Linked DNA regions of Homo sapiens: region 1 is linked to region 2. Evidence: promoter capture Hi-C in human tissues and cell types (Jung and others, 2019). All regions are on one chromosome and are shown on one strand. The core of a region is centred on a gene start or on the middle of the fragment in contact, and the rest is flanking DNA. Distances in the headings are between cores, read along the strand shown. Region 1 has its middle 120 kb from the start of LINC02627. Region 2 holds the start of SORCS3 (sortilin related VPS10 domain containing receptor 3).

Region 1 (4,211 bases), core at 179-2,678, 1.3 Mb before region 2:
CTATCTTTGGCTTGGTGCCATTGGTACAGACATTCCATTTGCATTATAAAAACATAAAATACCACTATATTTACTAATGGGATTGCTTTTTCTAACTTGTACCAAAACACATAGGGCTCCTCATGGCCTCAGTAGGTAAAGAAGAAAAGAAATGTACTTACTTACCAATAAGGCAAATGATAACATATCGGAGACTCTGTAACTTTTCTATATATTTGTCACCAGTTAATAGCAATGTTAAGGTTTTCTCAAGGCTTTAACAAACCAGCTTACAGATAGAAAGAACTGAGAAATTTGCTAGGGTATTAAATATCTGTTCCTCTGTTTTTCAGCAAGTCTAAATATACCAACTTCTGAGGGGGGAAAAAGAACTTCAAAATCCGAAACATACACATGCACAAGGAATTTGAAAACTTAGAATTACCATGATCAGAATATTGTTTTCTTTCTCCTTTCTTGAAAATATTTCTGTTTTCTCAGAAGTGTAAGCTGGAGACGAGGTGACCCCTGCTCAAAATTATCTACCATGTTCCATATGCCCATTGCCATTAGTAGATAGCTATCTGGCTTCTTTTATGGAAATTCAGTTCATCTTAATAATCTCCTCTGAATTCTTTCCAAACCTTTTGTGTCCCTCCATATTTCTGGAAAACAGATATAAAATTAATCATAATGTGCAGAAATATTTTGCAAGCCTAAAACAAAAATTCCTTTATCAATGTATAGAGCTGATATAATTGTACTTTATAAGGCTGCTAGCTTTTCCTTTTGCACATTTTTTAAATCTTCCCCTAAAAAGTCATCTAGTCTATGCTTAAATCAATGTTTCCTAAAATGAATATAGCATTTTCAGGTATGTATACGTACTGCGTATTCAACAGAAACTAAGACAATGGAAAAGAACATTGACAAATGCAGTTAGAGTCAAGTGCAAAAAAAAAGAAAAAAAAGAAAAGCCTTGTCTACCAGATCTAAAGATCACATGTGTACACATCTGCAATGACGGGTGACATTTTCATCTCCAAATGGAGGTCAGAATAGGAGGCAATAGAAAGATAAGCAAATAGGGCAGATAAATATGAGAGAGAGAGAGAGAGAGAGAGAGAGAGACAGACAGACAGACACTCACAAAAGCAAATCACACAAATATCTTTAGTCACTGGGAAAGCATGTTTAGGAAGTTTAACTTATCTTTATGTACATGGAACTTTTTCCAGCAATGGGACTTCTTAAGTAATGTAAATCTCTAGACAAGCTAGTTAGGGACATCTTTAATATTATGGAAGACGTATCTAGCAGTTTACATATACTGCACGGAGCAGGGCAGCACTTAATAACTGTTATTTAATGGAAGTTGTATATAGTAAAGATGCTTCTGGCCTTTATAATTGTGAATAAACATGGTTGTAGAAGCTTGTTGAAATTATAGGACATATATATTTTATATTGCTTTAAGAGGAGTTTATGATATATGGTAATTAAAACTTTGACGTATTGTCCAAGGCAAAGGGGAAAATCTGCTTTTAAAAATGGAATGTCAGGACAATAAGATGCCCATATAAATTGAATAAATAGTATGGAACCTATAAATTTGGCAATTCACTTTTAGAATATTCAAAGAACAAAACTCTTTTAGATGTCTAAGTTAGGTGTAAGAATATAAAGGCAGTTCCTAAATTATTAGTGATTCTGATTTCCAGCCTACTGCCTTGCCAGCAGACGTTCCTAACAAAGGACTCTATCACATAGTGCAGTGTAGAACTGGCCAGTCTTCAAAGGTTGAACACATCCTGATACATCCATATGCTTCTCTACTGTTTGAATTCCTATTACACACTGTCAAAGCTATACATAAATAATCTCCTTTAATCCTCATATCAACACTCCATCACTTTCAAGTAGAGAAAACTGAGTCTTTGAGAGTGTCAGCAGCTTGCCCAGGTCACATGCCAACCCAGATGCTTAATGATCATCTGCCTAGACAGATATTTGAAAAAAAGATATCTTACTCAAAGCAGAATTTGATTAGTCCCAGAATGTAGGCAATTAATTCCAGGGGCAGAAGTTTAGAGATTTCAGTAGCAAGCTTTGGTATCATTCATTTATTCATTAATATAGTTTCCAGATACTATTGAGTACTGCCTACGTGCCGTGCACTGTGCTCAAGTTAATTATACTCTTAGAGAAGGAGATATGCTGAAAGCTGCTCTATATGTCTTCTAGCAGGTCAAGAGAGAAGACAGGCTGTTCCTAGGAAACTATAGTTGAGTGTCCAGAAGAAGCTTAGGGCAGTATGACATGAGCAGTTTGTTCACAGATAGGGTGTTTGTGAGTCAAGAGTGTTGCAGACCTATGAAAGTGAGTATTTCATTTTGAGGACCATAAGTTATTTACATGTGTATATAGAAACATACATAGAGAAAAATATGTAAGCAGTAGAAAAGAGTACGAAGAAAGAAAAAAATTCAAACAACTCATTTTTATGCTTTCCTAAGCAGCAGCTATGGCAAAGATTTGAGTGCAACTAACCTATGTGGAAGGTGAAATCAGGAAGTACTCTTAGCAGAGTATGGAATAAAGACAATGGAAAGAATCCAATGAGGGTGCCTTAATGAATAGTTGACTGCTGAAAACAACAGGAGTTCAGTCTCCTGGAGACCTCTGGGAGACAACAGGGACCATTCCTCACAGCTGTAACCCCCTGTACCCAAGGGGGACGAAGCTGGATTGTTTATTCTCTAAATACCATTTATCATTCCCAGAGGGCTGTCCTCCCAACCTTCGTTTTTCCTCACTTCCTGATTATTCCACATATAGGGCTGGAGAAAGATGAGAGGCAGAGTTCCAGAAATTGCCAGTAGAGCACAGAAAAGCTTGCATAGGAAAAACAAAAGCTAGTGGGTATGGAAAGAGCATTGACAACACCTGCTAAGACCCTCCATTCATAGAAAACCACTGTCAACATTCTGGTGAATTTTCTCTATTCCATTTCTCCATTCCAGTCATACATCAATAAATGCATTTAGCCAATGGTTTCAGTATTATATTTGTGTTAGTTCACTCATGTCTTAGGTATCCCAAAAAAACTGTAATTTTAAGCAGCTGCATAATGTTTTATTATGTATGGCTTATAAATAATTTGTCCAGTTCTTTTATTGATGGACACAATTTGTTTTCAGTTCTTTTTAGTATTACAGACATTAATGCAATGAACATATTTTCACACGTTTTTTCTCTTTGCTTGAATACATTTCTAGATTAATATGCCTGCATATTTTAAGATATAGTACAATTCTCTAGAAATGCTACACAATTTACACAGTTACTGAAAGGGAATAGATGTGCCCATTTCAAATTATCCTTGGCAACAGTGAACTCTGTCTGGTACATATTAGACTTTTTAAACTTTATGAATATCTTTTTGTGTTCACTTTTTGTGAACACTTTTTGTGTTTGGAATCATGTTCACTGATTATTGCATTCTAAGATCTCCTTTCAGATGTTTTGCTATGTCTTAATGTATTCAATGTTTTCAACTGACAAGTAAAATTTGTATGTATTTATTGTGTACTATATGTTGCATGGAAATATGTATACATTATGGAATGGCTAGATCAAGCTAATTAACTATGTATTACCTCACATAGTTATTTTTTGTAGGGAGAGCACTTAAAATCTACTCAGTAATTATCAAGAATACAGTACATTGTTTTCAACTATATTCACCATGTTGTACAAGAGATTTACTGAACTTATTTCTCCTACCTAATTGAAATTTTGAATCTTTGACCAGTATCTCCTCAATATTCCCTCAACCCTAGCATATGCTAACCACCATTCTACTTTCTGCTTCTATGAGATCAACATTTTCAGATTACACTTGTAAGTGAGATTACACTTTTTGCACCTGGATTGTATTTCTTAAAATAATGTCCTCCAGGTTCATCCATTTGTCCCAAATGGCAGGACTTTTTTTTTTTCTTATTTACAGTTAATTAGTAGTTCATTGTGTATATATACCGCATTTTCTTCATCCATTCATCTACTTAGGTTGATTCTGTATCTTGGCTATTGTGAATAATGCTGCGATAAACATGGGAATGCAGGTATCTCCTCAATATATTGATTTACTTTCCTATAGATATACATCTAGCGGTGGAATTGCTCAATCATATACTAGTTTTTTTTAATTTTTGTGGAATCTCCATACT
Region 2 (4,420 bases), core at 1,404-3,903:
GTAAATACTCAAAAATAATCCTTAAAATAAAAGCAGAGACACAGAAAAACTCTTCAGGGAGGGTGAATTTATATTGTCCTAATGTGGCAGTAGGGAAGCCACAGATGTAAAGACATTGCATCCTCCTCTTCCTAGGATATATTTACTTCCACACATCCTATCCATCCATCCATCCTCCTCACCAAGTAAGAACCCCAACACACACACACACACACACACACACACACACACACCCTAATTATCAAACTAAAATGAAGTTGGGATTCACAACCCCTGCTGTCAGAGAATCAACCCTGAGGTCAGAGAATCTCCCCCCAGCACACACATATCCAAGTCCTCTTGGAAGGGACTTGGAAGTCTTCAATCACCCAGCCCTGCAAAGGCACACATTGTCCACCCCTCTCGCCAGAGCTGTCAGCCCGAGGCTACGGGGGTCTTCATCCCAGGCAGATGAAGCCCGCCATCGCGCTGCTGCGAAGCTGGACTTCACTGGTCCTTCAAGACCAGCATGGGCTACCCAGGCTGGGCTGCCCGCGCTGTGCATCATTAGAAACCAAGAAATCTGCACTTTGGTATTGCTTATGTACTACCTTCTGCGGACCCCTCGCTTTCCTCTTATTAGATACCCAATCCTGGACATCCCAGGCTCTGTTAAAATAAGGCAAAAATTTCCCAGAGAAATTTTGTCAAACACCGGTCATGAAGAGAAATACAAAACGGCAGGGAGTTGCGGGGTGAGTTCCTATCAAATCAGTTCCCCAAGGCTGCTTGTACAGACACCCGTCATCCTCCGCCTGGAGCGTGCACCCTACCCAACGCCAGGTTCTGATCTGAACCATGGAGCCAGAGAAGAGGAAAGGATTTTCCAAATCTGGCTCTAGTAGGGACCGCGGGAGGGAGGGAAGTCGGGGAGATGGTGGGAACCTGTCCCCCGCCTTTTCTTTGCTTGGCTGCACAGCGCTGGGTGCCGGCGAGGTAGGGGGAGCCCCTCCGGGCACGCGCTGCGGGCCGCTGCAGCTGCCAGGCAGGCGCGATGCTCAGTCGGGCGCCCAGTTCGGAATGCCGGAGTAGGCCAGACCGGGCTCAACGACGCCACCTCTCGGTACATCCTTGTCCAGGAGAACCCGGTGGCGGGGAAAAGCGGGTGGAGAGGTGTGCAGGAAGCTCAGGCACCCAACTCCGCTCAGGGAGCCGTTTGTGGCGCAGGACGCAATGGTGAAGTCGAGAGTTTTCTGCTGAGCGACTTCCGTGTGCCTGTGCGTGCGTGAGGGCGAGCGGTGTGGCATGAGCGCTGGATGGGTGTGGAATTTCGCTTCACGCTTTAAACTTTTTTTTACGGCCTCTGCTACGGCTTTCCAGGGCCGCTCCCTGGACTTTGAAGGAGGAACCGGGGTTACCTGAAGGCCAAGGCTGGGGGCCGACTTGGCCGAGCCTCCCTCTTGGGCTGGAGGACTGCGCGCCTGGAGCGGATAGCAGCGACCCCGAGGCGAGCAGGAGGCTGGGAGTCCGAATGGCCTTCCGGGTTCCCTTTCGCGTGACGGGAGGGGGGGTGGGGGTGGGGTGGGGGTAGGGGGAGCCCGGCAGCCGCAGGAATCGGTCTGTTCAGCGGCTCCCGCCCCAAGTCAGCCCTTTTTCTCATCCAAGAATTCAAGCACCCCGCAAACAGGAAAACTGACCCTCCAAGCCAAGTATTGGAGAAAGTGAGCACAGATCCCTCCCCCACTCATCTTTAAGAAGCCCCTTCCTCCACTCCCCTCCCGGCGGCCGAAGCCTAGGGTCTCCAGTAAACAAACACACACAGCGTCTAACAACAAACTCCGTTAACCTGTTGGGGGCGTGGGGGGAATCGGACAAACCTGTTATCTCGAAAAGTCGAGGCGTCCCCCGCCTCGACCCCCGAGCAACTATCTGTCCCTCGCTCCCACCCACCCCCCCATTCCCCTTCGGTGTCAGGAAACAGGCGGACCCGCCGCCGGGTGGGTACTCACGCTGCTGTTGTGTCCCGACCAGTGCACCATGGCTTGGTTGTGGGCCGAGTCCCCGGTCAGCGCGAAGGAGGTGCTGGGCAGCCGGAGGTCTTCAGCCGCCGACCCCCCAGCCCGCGGCGCCTTCACCTCCTCCCGGGAACCCTTAGCAAGGGGACGGCTTCCTCTGGAACCATCGGCCGGAGCAGTGGCCCAGGCGTCCCCGCGTTCCTGGGTGATTGGGGGCTGCGCCCGGCGACTCCTCCTCGCGCCGCCAAGCTTGGCAGGAGCTGGGATGCCCCGGCCCCGCCGCTCGCCTGCCGGTGATGTCCCTCCGGCTTCCACCTGCATCTCACCGCCTCTGCCGCCGCCCTGCTGGGGCAGCAGCTCTGGTCCGGCCCGGCGCCCCAGCACGGCGGCTCTCCGCGCCGACGCCAGCTCCTCCGGCCACTGGCTGGCCACTGCCCGCGGCGAGAGTGGAGACAACGCCGGTGGCCGCGAAGCCGGGGCCGCCGGGCGTCCGGGACCGCCTGTCGCGTCCCAAGTGATCTCGGCGCCGGCCAGGACCCACGTCGACAAGAGTAGGAGCCCCGTCCGGACAAGCGGCGCCCCCGGCCTGCCTGCGGGGCGCTCCGTGCGCGCCGCCTCCATCCCGCTGCGGCTACCGCGGCTCGGGCTGCCGAGTGTGTGGCGCCCGCCGAGGTGCGGGTCCGGCGCGGGGGGTGTGCGCGCGCCGGCGAGCGAGCGAGCGTGTGTGTGTAGGGGGAGTGGGGAGGGGGCGGCCGGGAAGGAGGTGGCTCCGGCTGGCGCGCCTCGCCGGTCCTCTCCACTCTTCCCTCCTAGCTCCCGCTCGCCCGTTCTCTTGTCCAGAGGGTGATTCCAAACCCGAGGAAAATTAATAATTGCCCCTTCGGTGCTTTCTTTCTTAAAATCAGATTCCCCCCAATCCTCCCCACTGAGCTCCTCCAGAAATTTGGTAAAAAGGAGTAATCAAAGGTAATAAGAAAATCTTCTTAAAATATGAAAATCAAGCCGGATCCAGGAGGGGCCGGCAATAGACCCCAATCCCGAGTCTCTCCGAAATCCAGCCTCCAACGTGCTCCCGGCGAAGAGTTGGGAGCCGCTTCTGGACGCGTTTGGGGGTTTACTCTTCGGGCCTGTTATGAGGGGCGGGAGATGGCGCGCGGGGAGGGTACAGGGGTCTCGGGGGAGAAGGAGGAGGAGTTGTGTGCTCAACGCCAACTGTTCGCGTTCTAGAGCCGAGAGGGAGCCAGGTGCCTCCGCGCGGGGAGGCTGCGCACGGAAGCCAAGCGCGGGATGCACCCTGGACTCTGCTCGCCGCTCCCTGGCCCGGCCGGCTCCCGGCCAAACCCCGCCACCCAAGGCCTGCGCCCCCGCGCGGGGGCGTGGGGAATGCGTGCGTGCGCGTGCGTGCGCGCAGGCAGGCGGGCGTGAGGCGAGGGGTTCGCAGGGGGCCGGCGGGCAGACCGGGCGCTGCCGCGTGGGGGCACCTGGCTGAGCCGGGCCGGGAGCGCGGCTGGGTGTGAGGGGGCGCGCGGTTCCGTGCGTGCGCGTTTGCACGAGCATGTGTGCACGTTAGTGTGAGCGATGGCAAGTGGGGCGGGGGCGGGAGGTGTGCGCTCGGCTTTTGGTCGCGTGCGGATCACGCACGGGCTGTGTTTGCATTTCCAGGAGCCTGCGAGTGGTCAAAGAGGCAATGCTGAGAACTAGGCAGGCCGCTCTCGGCAGCCCCCTCCTCTTGGCGCCCCGAGCACCCACGGCCCCCACTACAAGCGGTTAGAACCTGATAAAGCCTCCTAGGGGATGAGGGAAAAGAGGCGGAAGGCCCCGGTGGGATCGGGGACTTGCCAGATCTTCTCGGTTGAGGGATTCTCCTTGCCCCGACCTCCCGGCCAGAGGTGGGGCGAGAGAGTAGTCGAGATGTCTGTTCTTCCAGGGAGGATCCAGACCTCATTTTGCTGCCTAGGATTTTGAGGTCGTGCCCTCACTCTCCCCAGTCCGTTTCTGAACGGACTCAATTGTTTCAAAGTGTCGGCCGCCAGTTAAGAGGGTACTCAGGCGGGAGCCGCGTGGGCTTATCTGGTCCCCAATCCGCTACTGCAGGAGTGTAGCCTGCGCGCTTGGTGCAGCTGAGATCCTTCGTGACCGTAGGAAGAAGGAGACTTCAGGTGGGCTGAAGGGAAATGAGCTAAACCCACAGACGACCTCGAGCTGCGGTTTACAGGCCCCAGGACATGTGGTGTAGCTCGCCGCCTCCGAGAAGCCCCTGGGATTCTAGGGGTTGAAAAGTCTGAGACTAGAGGAGCTAGAGGAGGAGCTATTAAGAAAGGAGGAGGCAGGAGGGAGGAGGCTTAGGGAGAGAGAGACAGCCTCCAGCCCTGCTCCTCCCCTTCGGGAGTAGATAGAGTTCCTCCTCTCTAGAAGATGGTTAAAGT

The links. Contacts are between HindIII fragments. The study calls those that stand out against the background at their distance.
Region 1: a contact is called between a fragment that was not itself captured here and the fragment with the promoter of SORCS3 in region 2, in 1 of the 25 tissues and cell types used here (dorsolateral prefrontal cortex).

What each region holds. Positions count from the first base shown.
Region 1 is chr10:105,938,559-105,942,769 of GRCh38, reverse strand. No RefSeq gene overlaps it. Among named protein-coding and RNA genes, the nearest start is that of LINC02627, 120 kb to the right of the region's middle. The HindIII fragment of the contact is 5,696 bases long and covers 1-4,211 here.
Region 2 is chr10:104,639,523-104,643,942 of GRCh38, reverse strand. It overlaps SORCS3 (sortilin related VPS10 domain containing receptor 3), which reads right to left and starts at 2,653. Exons shown (of 27, transcript NM_014978.3): 1 at 1,989-2,653. The coding sequence starts at 2,615. The HindIII fragment of the contact is 5,425 bases long and covers 102-4,420 here.